2 separate regions of the Homo sapiens genome follow, and region 2 is linked to region 1. Evidence: promoter capture Hi-C in 16 types of primary human blood cells and fetal thymus (Javierre and others, 2016). All regions are on one chromosome and are shown on one strand. The core of a region is centred on a gene start or on the middle of the fragment in contact, and the rest is flanking DNA. Distances in the headings are between cores, read along the strand shown.

The links. Contacts are between HindIII fragments. The CHiCAGO score rates a contact against its expected background, and 5 or more counts as called.
Region 2: a fragment that was not itself captured here is called in contact with the fragment with the promoter of CAV2 in region 1 in 1 of 17 cell types (endothelial precursors); the score reaches 7.8 in endothelial precursors.

The regions. Positions count from the first base shown.
Region 1 is chr7:116,497,552-116,503,197 of GRCh38, forward strand. CAV2 (caveolin 2) reads left to right here and starts at 2,187. Exons shown (of 3, transcript NM_001233.5): 1 at 2,187-2,380; 2 at 2,709-2,896. The coding sequence starts at 2,231. CAV2-DT (CAV2 divergent transcript) reads right to left here and starts at 1,965. Exons shown (of 3, transcript NR_188012.1): 1 at 1,803-1,965. RefSeq lists enhancers at 1,202-1,703, 1,750-1,889 and silencers at 2,070-2,159, 3,944-4,238. The HindIII fragment of the contact is 7,148 bases long and covers 1-4,596 here.
Region 2 is chr7:116,376,707-116,382,352 of GRCh38, forward strand. No RefSeq gene overlaps it. Among named protein-coding and RNA genes, the nearest start is that of CAV2-DT, 120 kb to the right of the region's middle. The HindIII fragment of the contact is 1,104 bases long and covers 2,407-3,510 here.

The DNA of each region.
Region 1 (5,646 bases), core at 937-3,436:
AATCCCATGGAAAATGTAAATGTAATGAGGACCAAGAATTATAAGGTAAGAAGTGCTAATGTCAGATTTTTACCCACTACATAAGCCCACTCTTGTACTAGGGCAGTGACTTTCTTCTTTGGGTGAGACCTTGAAATCTGGGATTATAATTTTGAATTATAATTATAAAATGGTATTTGGCTGTAAATTATCTCCTTTTTTTTTCTGTTCCTCACAGTTGATATTATGGATTCCCATAAGGATTCATGTCTTCTATTCACTTTAATGAACAGTTGTTGGGCAACAATTCTAGAAGAGTTCCAATTCTCATCAGGAGAATGGACAAGGTGGAGAAGCAGAGAAAATGCAATGAGTAGAATGTCTAAGTCATCACTTTGGAATTGACTGAACATAAATAAAAATGAGAAAGATACGTAAAAAAGAAGGGAATGGGTAAGCAGGGTGATGTCTGGGAGAGGAGGGGCTCCATAGCCATGAGAGTCAACTCTGTAACACCCTATAGGGTTACAACACTGCCCTTCATATACTGAGGTAGCAGCAGGGAAACTTTTTAATTATTAGAAATATTGAACTTTGCCTCCCACCCCCAAACATTTTTCTCATTCAGTTCCTGTTCTTTTTTATTTCTGTAATTTTTACTGTTTCAAAAATGATCTTTTTTCTTTCGGAAGAAGCAATTCTTCAAATCCAGTTCACATAAGGGGATTTGATATGTTCAACAAGCTCCAAATACACTGTATCCAGCAATACCTACTACATGCCTACTTTGAGCTCTGAGCAACCTGCACCTCAAGCCTAGTTCTCATTGTTTTGCTTTTGGCAAATTTTCACTAAGTGCCCTTCCTCCCCAAACACACGTATATGTCTACCAGACCCTAAAGCCCTTTATGAACATGCAAACTCCTCCCTTCTGAAAACCTTTGCGTGAGTGGTCAGCAGGCTAATTCATCCATTGCAATGTGGCTTTGTGTTAGGGTTCTGTTTCCGTGCTGCCTGCAAGATAATCACAGATGTGACTGCATCTTAGAAGTTCCTGAATCTTTCAAGACAGTCTGGTTCACAAGAAAATTAAAAGGTGGAGGTCGGGCGCGGTGGCTCACGCCTGCAATCCCAGCACTTTGGGAGGCCGAGGCGGGCGGATCACCTGAGGTTGGGAGTTCGAAACCAGCCTGACCAACATGGGGAAACCCCGTCTCTGCTAAAAATACAAAATTAGCCAGGCGTGGTGGTGCATGCCTGTAATCCCAGCTACTCGGGAGGCTGAGGCAGGAGAATCGCTTGAACCCGGGAGGCAGAGGTTGCGATGAGCCGAGATCGTGCCATTGCACTCCAGCCTGGGCAACAAGAGCGAAACTCTGCCACACACACACAAACACACACACACACACACACACGGTGTAGTTTAGGAAGTAAAAAAAAAAAAAAAAAAAAAATCAGATCTCCCCTCACACCTCAGATCTGAAGGCACAAACTCTAGGGCCAGGGCGTTCGCCTACCCAACTCCACATGCACTTGCAGGTCACCTAGCACTCAGGTACCTAGCACTCAGGTACATTGTGGCTCCTTACCTCTCACGACAGCAGCAACAACGTTGATTGGAAGTTTATCACTGTGTGTTACGGGCCATGGGCCATGTGTGTTAGAATTTTATGTGAAATTAACATTTAATTCTCACGGACACCCCTGAAACAGATGCCACAGCCCCCATTTTGCCAACGAGGCAGCTGAGGTTCCCAGAGGCTCAATACCAGCACCATGAGCCGCAGCACGCAAGGCAAACACAGCCGGAGGTGAGCACATACCTGCTTCGCACCCCATGCGCCTAACCACAAGGTTCCCTCCCTCCAGGAAGGCCGTTGTCTTCCCTGGGACGACTTGCCAGCTCTGAGGCATGACAGTACGGGCCCCCAGAAGGGTGACCAGGAGGCCCTCCTCGTCCCAGCTGCCGGCGTCGCCGCCCACTGCAGGGCCCGGGCTGTGACTCGTGGGGACGGTTCCCTGCGCCCCGGCGGGGGAGGTGGGCGGGGAGGGGCGGCGGGGCGCCGGGGCGGGGCTCGGGACGGCCGGGCTGGGAGCTGGAGCCCACAGCGGGAAGCGGCCGCCGCCCGGGCCTCGCAGGGCTAGGCGAGGCGAGGGGGGGCGGGGCCGGGCGCTACGGGAAGGGGAGGCCGCGCGGACCGGGAGCCGCACCGCGCCAGCCGGGCTGCAGCGGCCGCGCACCAAGGCTGCGATGGGGCTGGAGACGGAGAAGGCGGACGTACAGCTCTTCATGGACGACGACTCCTACAGCCACCACAGCGGCCTCGAGTACGCCGACCCCGAGAAGTTCGCGGACTCGGACCAGGACCGGGATCCCCACCGGCTCAACTCGCATCTCAAGGTGAAGCCCGGGGCGGGCGGGCCCAAGTCCCCGCTGAGGCCGGGAGGTGCGGGCGCCCCTCAGCCCCGCCCTAACCCGTCCCACCATTGCTACCGGGTCGGCCCCGCAGGGTCTGAGACCCGCACCCTTCCCCGGTCCCACCCGTCACCAGGCCGCCCGCGTAGCCAGGAATTCTTAGCCAGGTTCCTGTGCGCCCACCGTGACCCTAAGAGAAGAGGCGGACGCCCTGGCACGTCCTTCCCTCCTGCTTCCCCCGCCCAAAGCGCTCCCGGTTCCCGGGGCGTCAGGTTGGCTGACAGTTCGGGGTCCCTGCGTCCTGTCTCCTCAGCTGGGCTTCGAGGATGTGATCGCAGAGCCGGTGACTACGCACTCCTTTGACAAAGTGTGGATCTGCAGCCATGCCCTCTTTGAAATCAGCAAATACGTAATGTACAAGTTCCTGACGGTGTTCCTGGCCATTCCCCTGGCCTTCATTGCGGGAATTCTCTTTGCCACCCTCAGCTGTCTGCACATCTGGTGAGACGGGGCACACCGGGTGGACCGGCTTTCTGAAACATGGGCATATTCTCCGCCACCTGCCCCCTACTCTCCTCTTATCCCAGGCCGGCGTCAGGAGGAGGAACGCGCATCAGTTCCCAAGCAGTAGGAAGAACTGGAAGGCCTTGAAAGGCAATGCGCTTCCTTTAGAATAACAGTTTGGGCTTGGAGTTTCAACAGGAGAAAGAATGTCGGTCTTTCCTGGGGTGTGATTTTCCTTGCATACATAAGGCTGGGCTGAGTGTGGAGGCGGGTACCTGGAAGCCACACTTCTTACCACAGGCTGCTCTCGGGGCCCTGTTGTGACTCGTACCTGCGGTTCTGGGCAGGACTCTTCTTTCTTTCATTGCCTTTTATTCAGTCACTGCCTGTGCTTGGGGTAAAACAAAAGTGATCTCTGAGCAGAATGCCGCTGACAGTAGAATTGGATGAGGATGTCAGACCTGGTTAAGCAGTAGTGTGGAGGGGCTGCTTCAACTTTGCCCCTGGCAGATGGCAAGGATGGGACCCAGAGGAAAGGGAGGTGTGTGCAGTTAAGGCGAGGGTCCCCCCCAGTACAAACGAATGAAAACTCCAGCTGCGGGATAATGAATGAGAAGGCCTCCAAATTACTTTTTCACTGATGAAACACAAATGGAAGTGGCATATAATTAAAGGGGAAAGAAATATGGAAGCCCACTGTATATTGATAGGATATTTTGAGTAACTCTATTCATACTCAAAATGTGTCCTAAACTGTAGAGAACTTTCTTAAGCATCTTTTAAATTTTTTATGGAAAATGTCATATTTTACCAATAAATGTTGTTGTGTTAGAAAATATCCACTTTAATCTGAGAGGAAGAATATTCAGATCATCCCCAGTATCACAACAGTTGTCACGCTAGTGCTTCAGGTTAGTCCTGGTGAAAGGTATAACCCAAGGTACCTCCGTGTCTTTCTTACACCTTTTATGATATTGCCACACCCTGATAAATACTCGGTGTTCATTGTTAGAAGTTACCAATTTATCCTTTATTTCTCTATACCACCTGAATCTTAATTTATTTAGTCAGTTAGCTAGCTAGTTAGTTCAACAAACTTTAAATTGATTGAGTGCTTAGTTTGTGCTGGGCACTGGGCCAGGATGAATGAGAGATAGGGTCTGCCTTCAGCTTACTCACAGCCTTATCAGGGCAGCTGGCTAGGTACAGAGATGGACGCTGAGAAAACACAGTCAACTGACAAAGAGGGAGGAACAGACAAGGCTTTGAAGAGTGAAAGGAGTCGAAAAAGACTTTGAAAGGATAAATGAAAATTCACCAAATACGTAAAGGATACACAAAGAACACCAATTTAATTTTATCACTAAAGGTTGTAAACAATTAAACTATGTTGAAGGTGCCAAGATTGCCAGGGAAATGAAAATGTTGCCTTAGTACATGATCAGCTTCATGAAGGTCAAATGGATAGTTATATTCTGACATTTGCACTTGAATTTTTTTTAAGATCCCTGAGTTGGCACATAAGATTTGGGATTCCCAATTAACTAAAACTAATCATCTAACCTCTATGTCAGTTTTCTCACTTTCAAAACTGTGAAAAACTGAGTGACCGCATAGCATATTGTGAAATGCTGACTATGAAGCTATTTGGAAATGTGAAGTACCATATTTATAGTCAACAAAGCTAGGCTTCCCAAAGCTTTTGTGAAAGAATTTGAAAAAAAAAAGTTTCTCATTTACTAAGTGGTGGAAAGATATAAGTAAAACTACAATTAACCAAGCAATGCCTCTCTCCAGCTGGCTCTTCTGAGAATGGGAGGTGTTTTTGTATAGTGCTTCAATTGGTGAATCATCAATGCACCTTTTTTTAGCCACATAAAATGTATTATTTAATATTATTTAACTTCAGCTTGTTTTTTTAACTATATTTATGTGGGGCATTAATATTTAACTGTAAAACATTTGTCACCAGGCAGCTGTGATTGCAAGTAGAGGAGTAATTTCAAACAAGAATGCTTAAAAGTTAGCTATGCCTTGATAAAATAGGTTTATCATTAATAGATTGCATTCCCATGACATGATAAGACCAGATCAAGGACAGACCTTACAGAATTGCAAACCCATTTGGGCAAGCTTTTTTTGTTTTGTTTTCTTTTTATATATATTTTTTAAAGCAGGGGCTTGTGTATTGTTTTTACCAAAAAGTTAGTGGTGACCAAAGCTAGGAAAATATGCAGTAGTGGAACTTTGAACCATGTCACAATATTAAAACAGGTCAGATTTTAGATCCTTTAAACAAACAATCAACAACAATAAAACACAGAAGTCTGGTGGTGTTGGATCCTAGACCAGAAGTACGGGCCATTAGGAATCAGTGAATTAGTTGGATTCCATACTACAGTCAGACAGAGATAGCTGCTGTTTGTTAAGCACAGGTTATTGGTCATAAGTGGATCATAACCAAAGAAATGTGGCTGGAGCACCCATATCCCTTATTTTTGCTGGAATGCAAAGCAAACAAATGCCCAACTGATGGAAATGCGATAGTAGCAATCTCATTTCTAGAAGACAGTTTTCATACAGTAAATTGCTATGAATGCAGTCTGCATGACTCTACAATTACTACAACACTAAATAAAAGTCTCTATCCTATGGCCTTATTATCCAAGGATATATATTATCCAAGGAATATATAACCTTACATATATTAATATATATAATATATATATATTATAAGATTTACTTAA
Region 2 (5,646 bases), core at 1,709-4,208, 120 kb before region 1:
TAGAATGGCAATCATTAAAAAGTCAGGAAACAACAGGTGCTGGAGAGGATGTGGAGAAATAGGAACACTTTTACACTGTTGGTGGGACTGTAAACTAGTTCAACCAGTGTGGCGATTCCTCAGGGATCTAGAACTAGAAATACCATTTGACCCAGCCATCCCATTACTGGGTATATACCCAAAGGATTATAAAGCATGCTGCTATAAAGACACATGCACATGTATGTTTATTGCAGCACTATTCACAATAGCAAAGACTTGGAACCAACCCAAATGTCCAACAATGATAGACTGGATTAAGAAAATGTGGCACATATACACCATGAAATACTATGCAGCCATAAAAAACGATGAGTTCGTGTCCTTTGTAGGGACATGGATAAAGCTGGAAACCATCATTCTCAGCAAACTATCGCAAGGACAAAAAACCAAACACCGCATGTTCTCACTCATAGGTGGGAATTGAACAATGAGAACACATGGACACAGGAAGGGGAACATCACACACCAGGGCCTGTTGTGGGGTAGGGGGAGGGGGGAGGGATAGCATTAGGAGATATACCTAATGCTAAATGATGAGTTAATGGGTGCAGCACACCAACATGGCACATTTATACATATGTAACAAACCTGCACATTGTGCACATGTACCCTAAAACTTAAAGTATAATAATAATTAAAAAAAAGAAAATTTATTCCTGCACCTTAGCTTTGCATACCTCTCTATGTTGACAATTTCTGAATATTTATCTCAAGCCTAGATCTCTCTTTTGGGCTGCAAACTCATACATTAAACCACTGATGAATAACTCACTCTGTATGTAATATTGGCAAGTCAACTTTTACATATCCGACATTCAACTCATTACTTTCCTCTCCAAGGCTGCAGTTCTTCCTGTGTTCCCTGCTCAGTGAATGATACAACAGCCTGCCCATTGCTAAAGCCAAGAACCTAGACTCCTCTATCTTCCTCATATGGTTCCCTAGACTCCTCTATCTTACATACAGGGGCATCTCAATGGTGACAAGCTGGACAGGAGAACTGCTACCATTTGTAAAAACATGCAGGTGACATAGCATTTCCACTAAGCACCCTCCAGCTAGCAACTTCCATTTAATCCAAAACAAAGGACCTTAATCCCCCATAATAAGGGGGATTAAGGTTATCCCTGTATGTAAGTCCTCAGTAAACCCTACGTCTCATTCGCTGCTTCTAGGTCTTTTATTTGACCTCTCAGACATGGTGCCATTCCTACTGGAGTCAACAGGGGTTCAGCATGACAGTGGGTAAATTACAAAACACTCATGAATAAGAGCAGTGGCTAAGAGTTCCACATTATGGTGCTTCTCAAAGTAGCCAGGAAGTTGACATTCAAGAGAAAACTATTGTTTCAATACAATACAGATCTTTAATCAAAGGTATCCACAAAATTCCTCTGTCAACCACTGGAGAAAAGCATAATATCAGATTTAGGTAGAGATTAAGGAGATAAAAGCTTAAAGGTGAAGTATTCAGGAAGAAGAAAACAATTTTAATGTGGGGAAGGCATGTATATTAGTCAGGATTACCCAGAGAAAGGAAGGAAAGAGGGAAGGAGGGGAGGGGAAGGAAGGGGAGGGGAGGGGAAGTATAGATGGAGAGAGAGAGATTTATGATTTATATATAGATTTACTCTCATATAATTATGGAGGCTGAAAAGTTCACAGTCTGCCATCTGTAAACTGGAGAACAAAGAAAGCCAGAGGTATAATCCAGTCCAAGTTCAAAGGCCTGAGAACCAGAGGAGCCAATGGTGTAGATCTCAATCTGAGCACAGGATAAGATGAGATGGCATGTTTCAGCACAGCAGTGAGGCAAAAGAATAACAGGCGAATTTCTCCTTCCTCTGCCTTTTGTTCTGTTCAGGCCCTAAAAGGATGAGATTATACTCACCAACATTGGGGAGGACAATTTTCCTCACTCAGTCTACCAATTCAAATGCTCATCTCGTCCCGAAACACCCTTGCAGACACACTCAGAAACAGTGTTTTACCAGCTATCTGAGCATTCCTTAGCCCAGTCAAATTGACACATAAAATTAACCACACAGCATGAAAACAAAAGTGAAATCTCTCATTAGGGGAGAATGTGTGGAATCTTCTGCATCGGTGGGAAAATTATTGATCATAAATGGTTAGATCAACTTCCTCTTCTGAGCCTTCTGAAGAGAATGAGAGAATGGGAGAAAGTAGAAGAGTGATTGTATCTGGTGGTCTTCATCTTCCAAGTAATGTGTGCATATATATATATATATACACACACACACACATATGTATGTATACACACACATATATACACATATACTACATACTTATATATGAACACTAATTTTCTCATGAGTGTCTAGAAACCAGTCATGTGATTAAAGCTTGAATTACATAAACGCTTTAACTGAAAGATGAGGGAAGAAAAAAATTGTAGAAAAACAGAGGTTTCAACTTATGGAAAATCTTAATTAGCTACATGAACTAAAAAGTGAATAGGGAAAAACAGCATGAGTGGAATGGAACATATAGAAATTATATTATGTAACTTTTTACATTCAGAAAAAGTATTCTATTGCTGTTTATTGAACATGAAACTTCACAGTCCATGAATAAAAGTGTACCTTCTCTGGTGCAATATGAAAGAGCCATGAGGCCTCTCCTCCTGCCCATAATAATCAGTGGGTACATTTTCATTGATTATTTGTGCACTAAGAGCAATAAAGTAAGTTCTTAGATATAGCACTTCAAAACACACACACAAAAAACATATAAATTCTTTAACTAAACATGACAATAACTTTCTCATTTACACTCAATCACGTTATATTAGGTGAGCACTGTCATTCCATCAATCCATTAAAGGATGCAGCAATAATACCAATGCAGAATGGAATAGAGATACCAGGCAGGAGGCCTAGGAGAGCATCTGGGACAACTCTTTACATTATACAAACTGAATTTTTATCTTTTATTTTTTCTATTTTCTATCACAGCCAAATCTATACTGCATTTTATTCCCTTCAATGAGATAATAATAAAATCCGTAGGATTTTGAAACGTCACTAACATTTTTAAAATGTATCTGAAGCCCCAGAATCCTTATAAATAGGTACTTTGAGAGAGCCCAGGGACTACAAGCATTTTGGATTTATTTAATTGGCTTTCAGGTTTTCCTTCTAAATAAGTCAGCATTCAATTAGTCAATGGCAAGTTTTCACAATAGCTTAACTGGCAATATGAAGGCATCAACTTAAAACTCACTACAAGTTACAGCTATCTGCTTTTCCGAATTGTTATTTATCATCCTACCTACCATAGGTTCTTTTCAGTCACACTTCCTTCCACATTTACTAACTTAATGAGCTCAAGAAAATAAAAAAGAAATGAAGTTTCAAAAATCCCCTCTGACATTTCTTTGAGATTCTGAACTACATTTCATAGAGCCGGGACTCTGAGTAATCTAAAATAAGAGCTGGCAACAGAAGCTTGCCAGCTGTTGCACATTTACCAGCCCAGTTACATTTTTCCTCCCTCTGAGCTGCATAGTTATAAAGGGCCAGTATGAACCTTATTTGGATTAAAATTTGTACCATTCACACAACACAGTTTCTTTTAAAAGTTTGCATGTTCATTTTCTTTATTCAGTATTTATGCTGAAACTAGGTATCTATGATGTCCTGTCATATTTTTGTAACTATAAAATGCTACCATGTAACCCTGCAGAAAGAAAGTTTGACCTATTTGATTATCAGAATGAGACAAAATTTAATCTTTGTGGCAAAAAAAAAAATCCTATAAAGCAGCAGCTAATGGCACATTTGTACTTTTCCATTTTTATGTCAAGCTTCATTAAAAAAAAAATTGTAAAATATTGTAGGGGTGTAATGGGGTCCCTGAGACCATCCCTTGCTTGGAGATTCCCTAAAATGATCCATGGGAGCCAACATGTAGTTGTATAGTTGTACTCACAGCTAAGACTTATTAAGGGCAGTGTAGTGAGGATATACGGCACAGCATAAGGGAACCAGCACAGGCAAGTCCAGAGGAATCCACGTGCAGGCTCCCTACACTCACCCCTTCCCATGAGAGGTCACACTGAGCATCCTCTTCCACAGCAAACAAACGCAGCACCTGTGTGATGTTTCTGTCCAGAGGCCCACTAGAGACTCTGTACCTGTAACAGTCCTTTCTCACACTGCTATGAAGAAAATACCCAAGACTGGGTAATTTACAAAGGAAAGAGGTTTAATTAACTCACGGTTCCACATGGCTGGGAAGGCCTCAGGAAACTCAGAATCACGGTGGAAGGCAAGGGGAGGCAGACGTCTTCCTCACAAGGTGGCAAGGCAGAGAACTGCCCAGCGAAGTAGGGAAGAGCCCCTTATAAAATCAACAGGTCTCGTGAGAACTCACTCGATATCACAAGAGCAGCATGGGAGAAACTTCCCCCATGATTCAATGAAGTCCACCTGGTCTCTCCTTTGACACGTGGGGATTATGGGGATTACAATTGAAGATGAGCTTTAGGTGGGGACACAAAGCTTAACCATATCAGTACCCAAGGTTTTTATTCGGAGCTTGTCATGTAGACAGCCCCTGCTTACCATGTACCAAACTTCCAGACCACCAGAAGGAAAGCAGGTGTTTGGCATACACCACGCTGTGTTTCAGTCTAGGCACAGCAAACCAACTTTATCACTAAGAGAATTGGTGAGAACACCTCCAAATTCAAATTCTCAGACATCAGCCGCCTTGCAAGTAGGCTTTTTGGAGAATTGAAGTCTCAGACCTGCTAACTTAACGCCTTTCTTCCCAAAAGGACATTTGCAGTTTCTTCTAGTTTATAACACGCATCATTTAAATTTAGAGAGTAAGAAAAAATATTTCTAAATAGGTACTTTTTTCTAAATTGATATTTAAACAGTTAAAACATTTGATGATAATCTGGATGATATACATTTCACCTTCAAATGTAAAAAGAGGAAATTCTACCACAGAGGGACTGTTTTCTCATTGAAAAAGATCCTTCGAGAAAAGTATTTGCTTTTGCAGATAACTGAAGAAATTAGGCAGCATTTTCCAAATTTTCTTCTAGAATGCTGTAAGTTGAGGCCATTCCCCATCACTCACCATAAGACTGGGTAATTTATAAATGGAATGTCTCATTTTTAGAGGCATCCATAGACTCAAATTTAAAAACAGAGACTGAAAAACTCTACTTTTCTATTGTGTTTTGCACTTAATTGCTTTAAGCAATGCCAAAAATCAGCAAAAAGCTGCTATGATCATTGCCTTGACATTTTCTTATAGGTCACAAAATATTTAAACATTTTCTTTGTTATTCCAAAGGTGATTAGCAAGTGAAAGTATTTAGGTTTAATAATGTATTTAAAATAATGAGACATGTGAACCTGAATATATACAGTGATCTTGATGTCTCTGCCTATGTTATTAACATAGACCAGGAGATTTTTTGTTATAATTTAGGGCCTTATAAATGAAGAAGCAGCCACAGTGTAGAATCTCAAGAGTGTCAGAATAATGTACTAGTACTTTTCAAAGCGCTTGTCAACAAGTGACCTTAGATATTAATTTTACCCAGCATTATTTTCCCTATTT